3 separate regions of the Homo sapiens genome follow, and regions 2 and 3 are each linked to region 1. Evidence: promoter capture Hi-C in human tissues and cell types (Jung and others, 2019). All regions are on one chromosome and are shown on one strand. Each heading gives the region's core, a stretch centred on a gene start or on the middle of the fragment in contact. The rest is flanking DNA. Distances are from core to core; before and after follow the strand shown.

Region 1 (4,852 bases), core at 1,107-3,606:
TGTATTTTTAGTAGAGGCGGGGTTTCCCCATGTTGGCCAGGCTGGTCTCAAACTCCTGACTTCAGGTGATCCTCTTACCTTGGCCTCCCAAAGTGCTGGGACTACAGGCGTGAGCCACTGCCTCCGGCCTAAAACAATTTCTTTTAGAGACAAGGTTTCACTGTGTTTCTCCGGGTGGTCTTGAACTCCTTGGACAGCATTCTTCATTGCTGGAAGCAATTCTCATCTGGCAGCCAAAACCAAGGTCCGTTTTAGAAGGACCACTTCCCTAGGAGCAAAGTTTTATTTGCAAGACCTGACAAAGGAAAATGTGTGTACCAGACGCTTGAGCCTAACCAGTCCAATGTAAATTTGCGACCAGGCACAAAAATAAAATAAAATAATAAAATAAAATAGGCCAGGCTCGGTGGCTCATGCCTATAATCCCAGCACTTTGGGAGGCCAAGGTGGGTGGATCACATGAGGTCAGGAGTTTGAGACTGGCCTGGCCAACATGGTGAAACCCCATCTCTACTAATAATATAAAATTTAGCCAGGTGTGGTGGTGCACGCCTGTAATCCCAGCTTTTCGGGAGGCTGAAATGGAGAACTGCTTGAACCCAGGAGGCAGAAGTTGCAGTGAGCCAAGATCGCATCATTACATTCCAGCCTGGGCGACAAGAGCGAAATTCCGTCTCCAGAAAAAAATAATAAGATAAAATAAAATAGAATAAAGACTTGAAGTCAAGCCAGGTACGGTGGCTGCTCACACCTGTAATCCCAGCACTTTGGGAGGCCGAGGTGGGCAGATCACGAGGTCAGGAGTTCAAGACCAGCCTGGCCAATATGGTGAAAGTGACCATGGCTGGGTGAAATGATCACTGCAGCCGGTCTGGGAAGGCAGAAGCAAGCAGAGGGCCTGGGCAGGATAGGCAGGGATTCTCTGTGGGGAGGATCTGTGGAGACAGGGGCAGCAGGATTAGGATGTCGGAATTGAGGAGGCTTTTGTCCTTGGGGGATGGAGTGGAGAAGTGGGGCATGGTCCTGGAAATTTGCCCTGCAGCCTCACCAGGCCATCTGGAAGCTACTTGTTGGGAACCCCGTGTGTGTAAAGGGCTGACCCAGGCCCAGACCCGGAGGAACTGGAGAAGGGCACACACTGAGACCACCCGAGGGGTGTGCTGGAACTGCTTGGCCAGTCCTTGGGGATGGGATGGCTGGGGCATGTGGGTGTCTTCCTGTAAGAAAACAGGACTTGATGAGGAAGGTGGGAGGCTGTTCCAGGCAGATGGAGGTCTGTGCCCCCAGAGCAATGTAGGAGTCGCCATGCGGGGCTCCATCTTTGGTACAGTGGGGGCAGAGATTGGCGAGGGGCATCAGGGCCAGATATGTAGGTGTGGGGAGCCCTAGATGGGCCAGTGCTGCAGGGGGAGGCAAGGTCATGCCAGGGAGGTGGATGGGACGCTGGACACAAGTGAAGAGTGACCAGCCCTGTGGCTTCCTCAAACCTATGTGAGTGCCTGCCCCATTCCCAGATGAAGAAAACAGAGGTTTCAATAGGGAAAGTGACTTGTTCTAAATCCCAGAGTTGGGAAGTCAGGAAGCTCAGCCTCCTGATTCCAAAGGCAAATCTGGAGTTTCTGTTGGAGTTAAGGGGCCAGGTGAATGGTCTATGTTGACCAAAAAAAAAAAAAAAAAAAAAAAAAAGCTCTGTAAAATGTTTAAAGAAGTTTATTCTCTGGCGTGAACCCGGGAGGCAGAGCTTGCGCCACTGCACTCCAGCCTGGGTGACAGAGCGAGACTCCATCTCAAAAAAAAAAAAAAAAAAAGAAGTTTATTCTCAGCTGATATGAGTGACCATGACCTGGGGTACAGTCTCAAGAGGTCCTGAGAAAGTGTGCCTCAGATGGTTGGGTTATAGTTTGGTTTTATACATTTTAGGGAGACAGAGGTTACAAGCAAATACATCAATCAATACATGTAAAGTACACATTGCTTCAGCCTATAAGGGCAGGACAACTCCAGGGGAGTTACAGGTCATAGGTGATTCAAAGGTTTTCTGATTGGCAATTGGTTGAAAAAGTTAAGCTTTGTCTAAAGAGTTGAAGTGGCTGGGTACAATGACTGACATCTGTAATCCCAGCACTTTGAGAGGCCGAGGAGGATGGCTTGATCCCAGGAGTTTTCAACAAGCCTGGGCAGCGTAGTGAGACCCGGTGTCTACAAAAAAATTTTAAAAATTAATTGGGCATCGTGATGTGCACCTGTAGTCCCAGCTACTTGGGAGGCTAAGGTGGGAGGATTACTTAAGCCCAGGAGGTCGAGCCTATGGTGAGCCATGACTGTGACACTGCATTCCAACTCGGGGGACAGAATGAGACCCTGTCTCAAAAATAAAATAAAACAGGCCAGTTGCAGTAGCTCACACCTGTAATCCCAGCACTTTGGGAGGCCAAGGCAGATGGATCACTTGAGGTCAGGAGTTCAATACCAGCCTGGCCAATATGGTGAAACCCCATCTCTACTAGAAATAGAAAAATTAACTGGGAGTGGTGGCATGCATCTGTAATCCCAGCTACTCTGGAGCCTGAGGCAGGATAATTGCCTGAACCTGGGAGGTGGATGTTGCAGTTAGCCGAGGTCGCACCATTGCACTCCAGCCTGGGCAACAAGAGTGAAACTCCATCTCCAAAAAAAATAGTAAGATAAAATAAAATAAAGAGTTGAAGGCATGGTGGCTCACGCCTGTAATCCCAGCAGTTTGGAGGCCAAGGAGGGCAGATCACGAGGTCAGGAGTTCGAGACCAGCCTGGCCAATATGGTGAAACCCTGTCTCTACTAATAGTACAAAAATTAACTGGGTGTGGTAGCACACATCTGTAGTCTCAGCTACTCTGGAGGCTGAAGCAGGAGAATCGCTTGAACCCAGGGAGGTGGAGGTTGCATTGCACTCCAGCCTGGGCGACAGAGCGAGATTCCATCTCAAAAAAAAAAAAAAAAGCGTTGAAGTCAGTGGGAAGAAATGCTTGGGTTAAGAAAGGGGTTGTGGAAGCTGAGGTTCTTGTTACGTAGATGAAGCCTCCAGGTAGCAGCCCTCAGAATAGATAGTGAATGTCTCTTTTCAGACCTTCAAAAGTCTCAGACTCTCATTGAATCTCTCCTAAATCTGACAAAGTCCTGGCTACATTAATGGAAATTCTCTACAGATGCAAATTTCCCCCATGGGAGACAGCTTTGCAGGGCCATTTCAAAATATTGTCAAATAAATATATTTTGGGGTAAAATATTTTGATGCCCTTCAGGGTCTGCTATCTGTTACGTGATGTACCAGAGTCAGGTAGAAATTTGGCATCTTATTGCTACAAAAATTCTGTTTTGAGCCAGGCACGGTGTCTCACACCTGTAATCCCAGCACTTTGGGAGGCTGAGGTGGGTGGATCACCTGAGGTCAAGAGGTCAAGAGTTTGAGAGCAGCCTGGCCAACATAGTGAAACCCCATCTCTACTAAAAATACAAAAAATTAGCTGGATGTGGTGGTGGGCGCCTGTATTCCCAGCTACTCAGGAGGCTGAGGCAGAAGAATTACTTGAACCCGGGGGCCAGAGGTTGCAGTGAGCCAAGATCATGCCATTGCACTCCAGCCTGGGCAACAAGAGCGAAACTCTGTCTAAAAAAAAAAAGTCTGTTTTGTCAGTCTTATGATCTCTATTTTATTTATTTATTTTTAATTTATTTTATTTTATTTTTGAGACAGAGTTTCACTCTCGTTGCCCAGGCTGGAGTGTAATGACGCTATCTCGGCTCACTGCAGCTTCTACCTCCCAGGGTCAGACAATTCTTGTGCCTCAGCTTCCCAAGTAGCTGAGATTACAGGCATGTGCCACCATGCCTGGCTAATTTTTTGAATTTTTTGTAGAGATGGGGTTTCATCATGTTGGCCAGGTTGGTCTCGAACTCCTGACCTCAAGTGATCCACCTGCCTTGGCCTCCCAAACTGCTGGGATTACAGGAATGAGCCACTGCGCCTGGCTAGAATAAATACTTTATGCTTTGGGCCAACAGGCAAAATCGAGGGTATGAAGTCGGTAAGTACATACCAAGAAATGAAACCAACTTCCATAATTTGGGGGGATTGCTATTGACAGAATGTCAAAGTTAATTTATGGATGCTGAAAGTTGAGTTTCATACAATTTTTATGTGTCATGAAATATTATTATTTTCATTATTTATTTATTTATTTGTTTATTTATTTATTTATTTTTGATACAGAGTCTTGCTCTGTCATCCAGACTGTGATCTCAGCTCACTGCGACCTCTGCCTTCTGGGTTCAAGCGATCCTCTGCCTCAGCCTCCCAAGTAGCTGGGATTACAGGCACATGCCACCACACCTGGCTAATTTTTTTGTATTTTTAGTAGAGATGGGGTTTCACCATGTTCAAGGCCAGGCTGGTCTTGAACTCCTGACCTCAAGTGATCTGCCTGCCTCAGCCTCCCAAAGTGCTGGGATTATAGGTGTGAGCCACTGCACTCAGCCTGATTTTTTTTTCAATGATTTAAAAATGTAAAAACCATTCTTTGTTCAGGGATCATATAAAATCAAGCAGTAAGCAAAATTTGGGCTATGGGCCATAGTTTGCCAACTCCTGGTCTAGATCTGCCCTGTTCATCATAGTAGCCACTGGCTACATGCAGCTATTGAGTACTTGAAATGTGGCCAGGGACAGTCACGATGGCTCACACCTGTAATCTCAGCACTTTTGGAGGTTAACGTGGGAGGATGGCTTGAACCCAGCAGTTTCAAGTTACAGCAAACTATGATTGCAACACTGCATCCCAAACCTGGGTGACAGGGAAAGAAAGAAAAAGAGAGA
Region 2 (4,640 bases), core at 1,903-4,402, 680 kb before region 1:
TTTTTTCTTTTCTTTTTTTTTTTTTTTTTTTTGAGACGGAGTTTTGCTCTCGTTGCCCAGGCTGGAGTGCAATGGCATGATCTCGGCTCACCGCAACCTCTGCCTCCCAGGTTCAAGCAATTCTGCCTGCCTCAGCCTCCCGAGTAGCTGGCATTACAGGCATGCACCACCATGCCCAGCTACTTCTGTATTTTTAGTAGAGACGGGGTTTCTCCATGTTGAGGCTGGTCTCGAACTTCTGACCTCAGGTGATCCGCCCGCCTCGGCCTCCCAAAGTGCTGGGATTATAGGCCTGAGCCACCGCACCCGGCCACCAGTGCTTTTTAGTATACTCACAAGGCTGTGCACTGTTGCCACTGTCTAGTTCCAGAACTTTTCCATCATCCCACATGGAAGCCCTGTACCCATGAGCAGCCACTCCCCACTTCTCCCTTCCTCCAGCTCCTGCCAACACTCATCTGATTTCTATCCCAATGGAGTTACCTTGTCTGTACATTTCTTTCTTTCTTCTTTTCTTTTTTTTTTTTGAGACAGGGTCTCACTATGTTGCCCAGGCTGATCTTGAATTCCTAGGCTCAAGCAATCCTCCTACCTCAGCCTCCCAAAGTGCTAAGATTACAGGCAAGAGCTACTGTGCCAGGCGTTTGTTTGTTTTTATGGCTGAGTAGTATTCCATCTTGCGGACGGACCACGTTTTGCTTATCCATTTGTCAGCTGATGGCCATGTAGGCTGTTTCCACCTTCTGGTGGCTGTGAGTAGTGCTGCTATGGACGTTCATGTCCATGTGGGTTTTTTTTTAAGATAGGGTCTTGCTCTGTCTCCCGGGCTGGAGTGAAGTGGCACGATTACAGCTCACTGCAGCCTCGACCTCTGGGGCTCATGCGATCCTCCTGCCTCACATGTACATGTTTTGTTTGAACACCTGTTCAAGTTCTCTTGGGCACACACCTAGGAGTGGACCTGTGGGCCACATGGTAACTCTGTTTACCTCTTTGAAGAACCCCCAGGCTCACTTCCTTTTGACCCATCACAGACCTTTTGGGGCTTTACAAACATGTCCGGCTTAAACCCTCCAAAGCCTTCGCCTCTCACTCAGAACAAAACCACACACATGGCCTAGGGCATTTCAGCCGCTCTCCTAAGCTCTGTGAGTTGGCTTCCTCCTGCACTCCTTTCCTTCCAGCCACGTCGCCTTCTTTCTGCCCTTAAACACCCCACACTGTCCGGCCTCGGGGCCTCTGCCCACGGGACTCCCTCTGTTCACAACTCCCCAGGCTGCCCCTGTCCTCAGACCTTTGCCCAGTGGGTTCCTGTCATTCAGGGCCCTCCTCTGAGAGGCCTTCCCTGGCCACCCTGCCCGTCGCTCCCTCACTTCCTCCTGCTCCCCTGGCGGTCCATTTTCTCCATGGCACGCACGGCCCTCTGAGAGTCATTATAGATTTACTTTTCCCAGGCTTGTAGGTGCTCGGTGGAGCTTGCTGGGTGATGGGATGTGAGCGTGGAGGTGGACAAGTCGGGGGCAGGTGCCCCAGCCCAATCGCCCCCCTGCTCGCCGCACTCACCGGGAAGGCCAGCTGGCAGATGGGGCCCATCCAGGCCTGGCGGTGCTGAGCAGCCAGTAGATGGCTTCGCTCGGTGGTGGTGAGCAGGAAGGCACCGGTGTCCCGGGGGCAGCTCTCGCCGTCAGCCGGCAGCACGGACACACAGTCAGCCAGGCGGATGACCCGTCGCTCCCCTCGCCGGCCAGGCCCTGCCGACCTGTCACCCGCTGCTCCCAGGCCACCATCCCGGACCTCCCAGCTCTCCAGCCGTGCCACGCCTGATGGGCCTCCTGCATACAGCAGAGCCCACACCTTCCGCCAGCACTTCTGCGGGAGGGGAGCGGGAGGGTGAAGACCCTTGGGTGGCAGATTGTCCGTGCCACTTGGCTCAGCACAAGCTGCTCGGCAAACGCTCCCAGCCAGGAGCGGGCCTCTGCTCCCCAGTTTCTCAGGGAGCCAGGTAAGGAGGCCTTGGCTATGCTTGGGATTGGTCAGCCCTGGGTTCAAATCCCAGCCCGCTCTTTCCTAACTGTGACCTCCACAAGCATCAATGTCGTCTCTCAAAAGGCCATGAGAACTCGAGCTGGGACTGCTACTGGGTCATGTTTGTAAAGCATCCAGTGGCCGGGCAGACCACCAGACACTGCCATTATATTGGTTCCCTCTCACCCCCAAAAAGGGGCACTTGGGCCACAGGCCAAGAGCTGGGGTGGGAGGGAGGCCTCTGCCTCAAGCTGTTAAGGAAGGAAACATGCAAATAGCTTCGAGCAAAGGAAACTGACGGTTTATCTGCCTGGGCAGCAGCTGCAGCTGAGCTGCGGGGGTGTGGGGCTGCTGCCGAGGAGAGGTGACCCCCTGCCTCCTTGCTCCCAGGACAGTGCCGCTGCAGGGAGGGGCTCCACCCTTGAGGCCTCCTCCAGCTCAGCCCCTCACCCTATTTAGGGCCCTCGGTGGCACTATTTCATGGGTCAGAGGCTGTGAAGCTCTTCCCTGCTGGGAGGTTTGAGCCTTCGACCCTCTCCCACTCCTGTATTTCCCATCTCTCCCGGAGGCAGGGTCTGGCAGAGCCTGCTCAGCCCCTGCCGTCTCAGGCTGACACCCGCACTCCATTCCACTCCCCATACCTGGGTGGGATCCTCCACCCTGACTCCCTTCCCAAGTCTCCCAGGTCTGCCTGGGCTGTCCGAGGCAGGGGCAGAGGCTGCATTCTCCACCCACTGTTGGTCCTTGGCAGCTGCCTGGCAGCCAGGGGTCCCCACCTTGCCAAACTTGACATGCTGCTGGTAGAGGATGCCATCCTTGATAGGGGTCTCCAGAGGGTCCATGGTCACGGCCAGGAGCAGGGCCGCCGCTTCAAGACCTGGGGAGACTGATGACAGGCTGGACGGGAACTCCTCACACTTCCCCTTCTGGCCACTTCCCGTCCCTCCGTCTAGAGACAGCTGCAGGCCGGGGGGAGGGGAGCCTGTCTTCAGCTCAGGGGCTGGGGGCAGCATGTATTTCCTCCCTGGGGTTCTGGCTGCCCAAGGTGCCCACACCTACCTGGAGGGAGCCCCCGGCCACCTGAAGGCAGCCTTCTCACGCACCTGGTTCAGCTGGGCACGCGCGTCTGATCGCAGTCTGGCTCCCCGAGTCATGAGTTCCCGCCCCTCCCCCGTCCCGCCCCGGGCAGCTGCGCACCCTGGGCCTGACACTCCCTGGCCCTGCCTCCACCCAGGACCCTTCTCTAGCCAACTCCTGGCTTTCCCACTCGGCGTCCTGGTTTGAGCGCCTCACCCCATCTTGCTGCTTTTCTTTCTCCCTGAAATCTCTCTCGTGTTCACCTGCTCCTCTCCACCTCACGAGCCACTGAACATCACCAGCCTTTGGCATCCCCCCAGGGGCCACTGCCCCACTGGGCCTCCATGCAGCACTCTCCACAACCCAAGACCAACCTGTCTCTCCCCTTCCTGGGGTGCAGCCCAGGCTCCTCAGCCCAACACTCAGGGACCTGTGTGTTCTGGCCTGCATCTCCCCCAGGCCAGCCCCTCCAGGGCCCCCTCACCACTGTGCTGCCTGGGGCGGTTGGCCACCTCTTCCTCCTGGAGGCCTCCCTTGACCACTCCACGCTGTCCGAGAGCTCAAAGGCCCTCACGGTATACACTCACGCTGGGCATCCAGTCCACATGGGACCCACAGCCCTGAATGGCCCCAACCACGTGAGTGTGGGTGGCAGGTCCCAGGGGGCCCCGGAGAGGTCACATGTTCATTTAAAGCTTTGCTTCCTGCTGGGGGCGCCTTTTGTTGGCTTGCCTAGCAAGATGCCAATAGCGGGGCTGTGTGTATACCTTTATTCTGGAACAGCCTCAGGTCATTCAGCACCACCTCTGGGAGAGAACATGGAAGAGGATAAGGAATGCCATTTGGGAATGCACTTGGCCAGGAAATATGTCCTGAAGGCCTCCTGGCACCCAGCTCTGTGCCCACTGTGGCCCAAGCAGCCCTAAGCTCCGTCCACCTCAGACGCCACATCCTTTGCGTTCTCATCGCCATTTCAACAGTGAGGAAATCGGTGCTCAGAAAAATTAAGTAACTTGCCCAATGCCACATATCAAGTGACAAATATGGCTTGAGCAACCGCTGTCTCACTGGAATGAGCATGTGGCCATACATGCAAAGTGCCTGGCTCAGAGGAAGTGTGGCCGCCTGTGCCGTCCCTGCCTACCTCTCACCAGATGCTGAGATCCTGCCTCATCTGCTAGCGGTCTTGTGACTGCCGTCCACGTTTCTGCGTGTGCGTCTTTCTCTCCCCTCGCCTGACGGCTTCCCAGGCAGCCATCTCCCTGGCCCATCTAGGTCCTCACAGCTCAGCAGAGCTGGGCACAGAGCAGGCTTAGGGAGAGCTTGTGGCCTAAATGGCAGTTCTATGACATCTGCTGCCTCCTCAGTCAACGGAATGGAGGGCTCCCTCCAGGTGGCTGGCACAGGCAGGCAGTGGGTGGGGGTCCTGAGGCAAGAAGCAGCCTCCCAAGGGGCTTCAGGAGAAGTCCCTGAAACATCACAGCCCTGACAGGAAGAGTGGGCCTGAGAGCTATGACAGCTGGCCAGGGAGACCAGAG
Region 3 (4,663 bases), core at 481-2,980, 720 kb before region 1:
CAACACCCCTCCAGGCTGGAGGGCAAAGGAGGTGTTCTGGGGTGAGCTGTGCTTCTCCCCAGGCGGGGCCTTATCCCAAAGCCAGCTCCTTCACCAGGCCAAGCCGGCCACTTGCCCAGAGCTCCTCCCATGATCTCAGCCCCCCTGGGGCAGGGCTGGGACAATGGGTGGGCCGCCTGCCTGCTGAGCCTGTGCCGGCCTCTCCTGTGACTGACCTGCAGGACACGAGAGCTTGTCTCTCGCGTCCATCCCTCCAGGCCTGGCTGCTGGCCAGTGCTGCAGTACCATGCCATGGATGCCCAGCCATCTCATCCTCTCCTCCAGAAGCCCCCAGGTCAGAGTCCCCACCTGGCTGCCCTCCCAGTGTGCGGGTGAGGCCAGCCCAAGCGGGGTCCCTCAGACCTGCCCTCCTCTTTGCCTCAGTTTCCTCAAGAAGAACCTGTTCCCATCTGCCAGCAGGGAGAGGAGGCCTAGGAACCAGATGGGCACCTTCCCTAGAAGAAGAGTATTACGGGGGGGTTAAAGGATTCCAGGATGGGGCTGTGAGGAACCCCTCGGTTTCCTTTTTCCACCACCCTGGGCCGCCAGCCCCAGAGCAGGTGGTCCATCCCCTCCCCCAGCTCAGCGGGAGACAACAGCTGGGGGGCGGGGTGAGGGGCGGCCCAGCTCCTCCCCCATCAGGGACCGAGTGCCCCTTGCTGGGGGCCGGTGGATCTGTTCACCCCTTCAGCCGTCTTTGGGGGCTCCCTCCACACTTGTTCTCCAGAGGGCTTCCTCCCAGGGATCTCAGCTGGCCCCTTAGGCAGCTCGGTGCCCCCCAGCCCAGCTGCCTAGTCCCCGCAGTCCCCTTCAGGTAGGGGAGGAGAGCTCACCCCTGCCTCCTCCGCGACCCGCGGCGGTAAGGGAGTCACTTCGCGGTCGCCATGTGGCAGCAAACATCCTTCCACCTCACTCCAGCCCAGGTTTCGGGGGGAGGGCGGCCCACTCCGAGAGGCCCCCCGGTGGGCGGGGCGCCCGGCCCCCAGCCCGCTCCGCTCCTCCCCCGCCCTCGCTTTCCTTTGTGCTGTGGCCGGGCCGGGCTGAGCCGGGCAGGCTGCGCTGGCTCCGCTAGCTCGGTCCCCGCCCCGTCCCCGCCCGGACCTCGCCCGCTCGAAGGTGGCGAAGGTGCCCTTGGCCGCCCCGTGCACACCTGTCCCCCGGGCCCGGGGGGTAGGGTGGGGGATGGGCTCCCGCAGGGCCACGCGGCCCCGGGCCCCACATCGGGACCCCGCGCCTCCGGGCCGCGTCCGGCCGCCGCTCCCACCGCGCGCCTTGGGCCGCCTCCGGGCGCTCGGGGCCCGGCAGTGCCCCGCCTGGCCCGCCGGCCCCTCCCCCGGCGCGCACAAAGGCAGCCCCTCCCGGCCCTCCCGGCCCGCTGCACCATTTCGGGGTCCCCCTCCCTTCCCGGCGGCGGGGCGGCGGGGCGGGAGAGAAACAAAGGCGCGGCGGCGGCGCGGGGACAAAGGGGCCGGGGGCGGGGGCGGGGGGCTCACCAGTCGGCCGCGCTCTCCTCTCGGATCACCTCCTCGTAAGCCGCCAGCAGCTCCAGGCGGTGGCCGCTGAAGCTGACGCCGGCCATGCTTCGGGCCGGACCGGGCCGAACGGACAGACGCGCGGACGGACGGGCGGACGGAGGAGGAGGGAGGGAAAGAGGGAGTCGCCGCCGCCGCCTCGGAGCCTCTGCAGCGTCGCGAGCCGAGCGAGCCAGCGGCCGGGGGAGGGGAGCCGGCCGGCGGGGGGCGGGGGGCGCTGGCTCCGCCCGGCTCGCTCCCTCCGCTCGCTCGGTCCTAGCGCCGCCCCGGCCCGGCCCAGGGGGAGGCCCGCCCCCCCTTCCCGGCCTGCCCCGGGCGCCCCTCACCCACCGCCCCTGCGCGCCGCTCCAGGGCCAGCCCCACCCACGTCCCGAACCCTCACCTGCCCCGTCCGTAACCTCGGCGCTAGCCCTCCTTCCAGCCCCGAACCCAGTCCCGTCCCCACCTCCCCCCGCCCACCCCCCGTCCCAATCCGGTTCCGCCCCACCCATTGCTTCATTGATCTCCATTCCTGGTGCGTCCCACCTCATGTTAAACCCATTTTCATCCCAACCCAGCTCACACAACACCCCACCCCTGGCCCGTCTCCTTTCCCTGAGAGGTCCTTGCCTAGTCTATCCCATCATATCCACTGTCATCTGCATCCCACCCTCAAATCCACCCCAGTTGCTTTCCCATCCCAGCTTCAGCCCCATGCTTAGCACGTGTCCCCCCCAACATGTGTCACGGCACATCTTCAGTCCAACCCATCCCAGTCTCATCCTGATCCCAGTTCCCAATTCCCAACCACAGCCCCCCATCTCGGCTCCATGACCACTTATTCCAGGCCATTCTCAGCCCCTACCCAGCTCATTATCCCTCCATTCCAGGCCTCTCCTCCCCTCCACGCCTGTGCCCTCTCAGATGGGGCCAGCTAGGAGATCCTTTGCATTCTCTCTCAAGCCTCACGCCTCCCAGAGGAGTCCCAAGTAGAGTTCCGGAAGCAGCATCTAACCCCAGACTCCCACGGCAGGGCTCCTCCAAGGACGCTCAGGGCCAGCCTCTTGGCACCTTTATCTCCTAAAGCTCTAAGCACAGAACGGGAGGGGGCCTCAGAAAAGTACCCCCTGCAAGGGAGTGGACACCATGCCAGGGCCTTCCAGAACTCCGTTCCTTGCTAGGTTGGGACCCTGAAACCGTCCACAGCGCTTAGAAGCCTTTTCCACCACTACAAAGCCTCCAACCTCGACCTCCCTGAGCAAACTTCACCTGGTCCCAACCGCACCGCGGAGGAGGAGGTGGTTCTAGCCAGGCCTCCGAGTTCTGCGTTGGGTAATTGGCTATGCCAAGAGAAGGAGAGCAGGGCTGCCTATGTGGCAGTGTTCCTGGCGCTTTGGAGTTGGGAGAACCCTCTTAAAACTCAAAATACTCACAGGCCCCTGCCTTGGGAAGTCAGTGCCCACTATGTCTAGGGACCACAGGCCATGGCAATTTCTCCATGGCCACCACTAGAGTGAGGCACCCAGGCAGGGACACAGCCAGGCCCTGTGCCCTAGACCAACTGGCCAGTAGGTGTGGTTGGCCTGCCATGGGGATCCCTAAGGGAGTGGGTGACACATGGTGGGGAAGGGAAGTGGGGAGAGCCATGGAGGGACAGAGCTTCAGCCATCCCCCACCCTTAGGCATGAAGAGCCTGATTCTGGTGAGGAGGGAGACCCTGCAGCCGGGGAGGGGCAGCAGATGGCTGGCCATGAGCATCTGTGGCCTCAGCCTCTTCCAGCTTCCTTTGATTTGTCCTAGCTCACAGCTCCTCGCCCCCCCCGCTCCCCTCACCCCCCAGCCTCCTGCACACTCAATTTTGCATCCAAAAAACAGAAGCCCTAAATGCATCTAAGCTCTTCCTTCCTCAAATTCCTGCCTCCCCACCAGCCACCTACAAACTCTCCAGCCACGCCCACTCTCACCTCTTGCCATCAACATTTTTAAATAAACTTTCTATTTTAGAACAGTGTTAGATTTACAGAAAAGTTACAAAGATAGTATAGAGAGTTCCCATACACCCTGCACTCAGTTTTCCCTATTTTCAGGGAAGCAAGGGTGTTCCCTGCTGGCATGCCCTAGAGCCCACTCCCCTGGTCTCCGCACCCGTCACCCTTCCAGGTTATCTTCATCCCCTCATTTCTATAGGATGCAGACAGACATCTGTCCTCTGTCTCCTCCTCCCCGCATTTTCTCTGGCACTGCTCTGGCCAAGGTCACCAGTAACCCCTAACTTGCCAAACTCAGTGGACCCATAGTTCTCAGTTGCCCTGACTGGTGGGAGTGGGTGGCCACTGGTCACTGTCCTCTGAGAACCTGCCTCCTTTCAGCTGCTGTTGCCCCTGAAGCCCACACACTCAGCCTTGGTGGGTGGGAGGCTGGTGGGTTCCTCCTACCAGGACTTCGTGTCTGCCACCCCCAAACCGATCACCCTTCAAGTCACTGACAGGTCGGTCTCTCCCACCCCCAGAGCATGAGCTCCCCCTACACACAGCGGGAGGCTGGGCCAATGACTTCTGGATCCCCAGAGTGGAAAAGATGAGACAAGGGAGGACTGAGATCCAGAAACTGGGCCTTTGCTGTGTGACCTTGGCTGAAACACTTCCCCTCTCTGAGTTTCCTTTTGATAACCTGTTGTGAGAATAAAATGGGACTGGATGGAGGCTTAGAAGGAGAACCCCCTCCCTCCCTCCCTCCTCACAGCCCCACCCTCCTCCCTCCACCCCCACCTTCCTGTTCTGTGCTCCCCCACACCTCTCCGGGAAGGTTTTAGGGCTGAGGGGAGGCTGCAAGACTTTTTCAGCAAGAGCTGGTGGAGTCTTCTCTGGCCTCTTCCAACCTCTGCAAGATCCCACCAAGCACACACACAGATTGCCCCTTGATCATCACAAAGCTCATGGCTGTTCCCAGGTATCTGCCCCCGGCGCCGGGCCAGCCACGTTCATTCACATTAGCTCTGCTCCTGAGGAGTCTATTGCTAATGGTGTGACCTTGAGCTTGGTGCCTGACCTATCTTGAATCACTCATCTTCAACTGTAATATGGGGGTGATAGTGATGGTACCTACCTCCTAGG

Evidence for each region. The method cuts DNA at HindIII sites, captures the fragments that hold promoters and counts their contacts. A contact is called where the count stands out against the background at its distance.
Region 2: the fragment with the promoter of DOK3 here is called in contact with a fragment that was not itself captured in region 1 in 1 of the 25 tissues and cell types used here (lymphoblastoid cells).
Region 3: the fragment with the promoter of DBN1 here is called in contact with a fragment that was not itself captured in region 1 in 2 of the 25 tissues and cell types used here (liver and lymphoblastoid cells).

The regions. Positions count from the first base shown.
Region 1 is chr5:178,187,650-178,192,501 of GRCh38, forward strand. No RefSeq gene overlaps it. Among named protein-coding and RNA genes, the nearest start is that of GMCL2, 2.7 kb to the left of the region's middle. The HindIII fragment of the contact is 8,651 bases long and covers 1-4,852 here.
Region 2 is chr5:177,506,674-177,511,313 of GRCh38, forward strand. DOK3 (docking protein 3) reads right to left here and starts at 3,153. Exons shown (of 6, transcript NM_001308236.3): 1 at 3,085-3,153; 2 at 2,802-2,984; 3 at 1,564-1,869. The coding sequence starts at 2,867. RefSeq lists enhancers at 1,409-1,518, 1,539-1,588, 3,409-3,558 and a silencer at 3,139-3,278. The HindIII fragment of the contact is 13,536 bases long and covers 1-4,640 here.
Region 3 is chr5:177,471,904-177,476,566 of GRCh38, forward strand. DBN1 (drebrin 1) reads right to left here and starts at 1,731. Exons shown (of 15, transcript NM_001363541.2): 1 at 1,533-1,731. The coding sequence starts at 1,618. RefSeq lists enhancers at 589-1,092, 1,093-1,594 and silencers at 743-929, 849-1,218, 1,249-1,448, 1,529-1,908, 1,919-1,968. The HindIII fragment of the contact is 16,715 bases long and covers 1-4,663 here.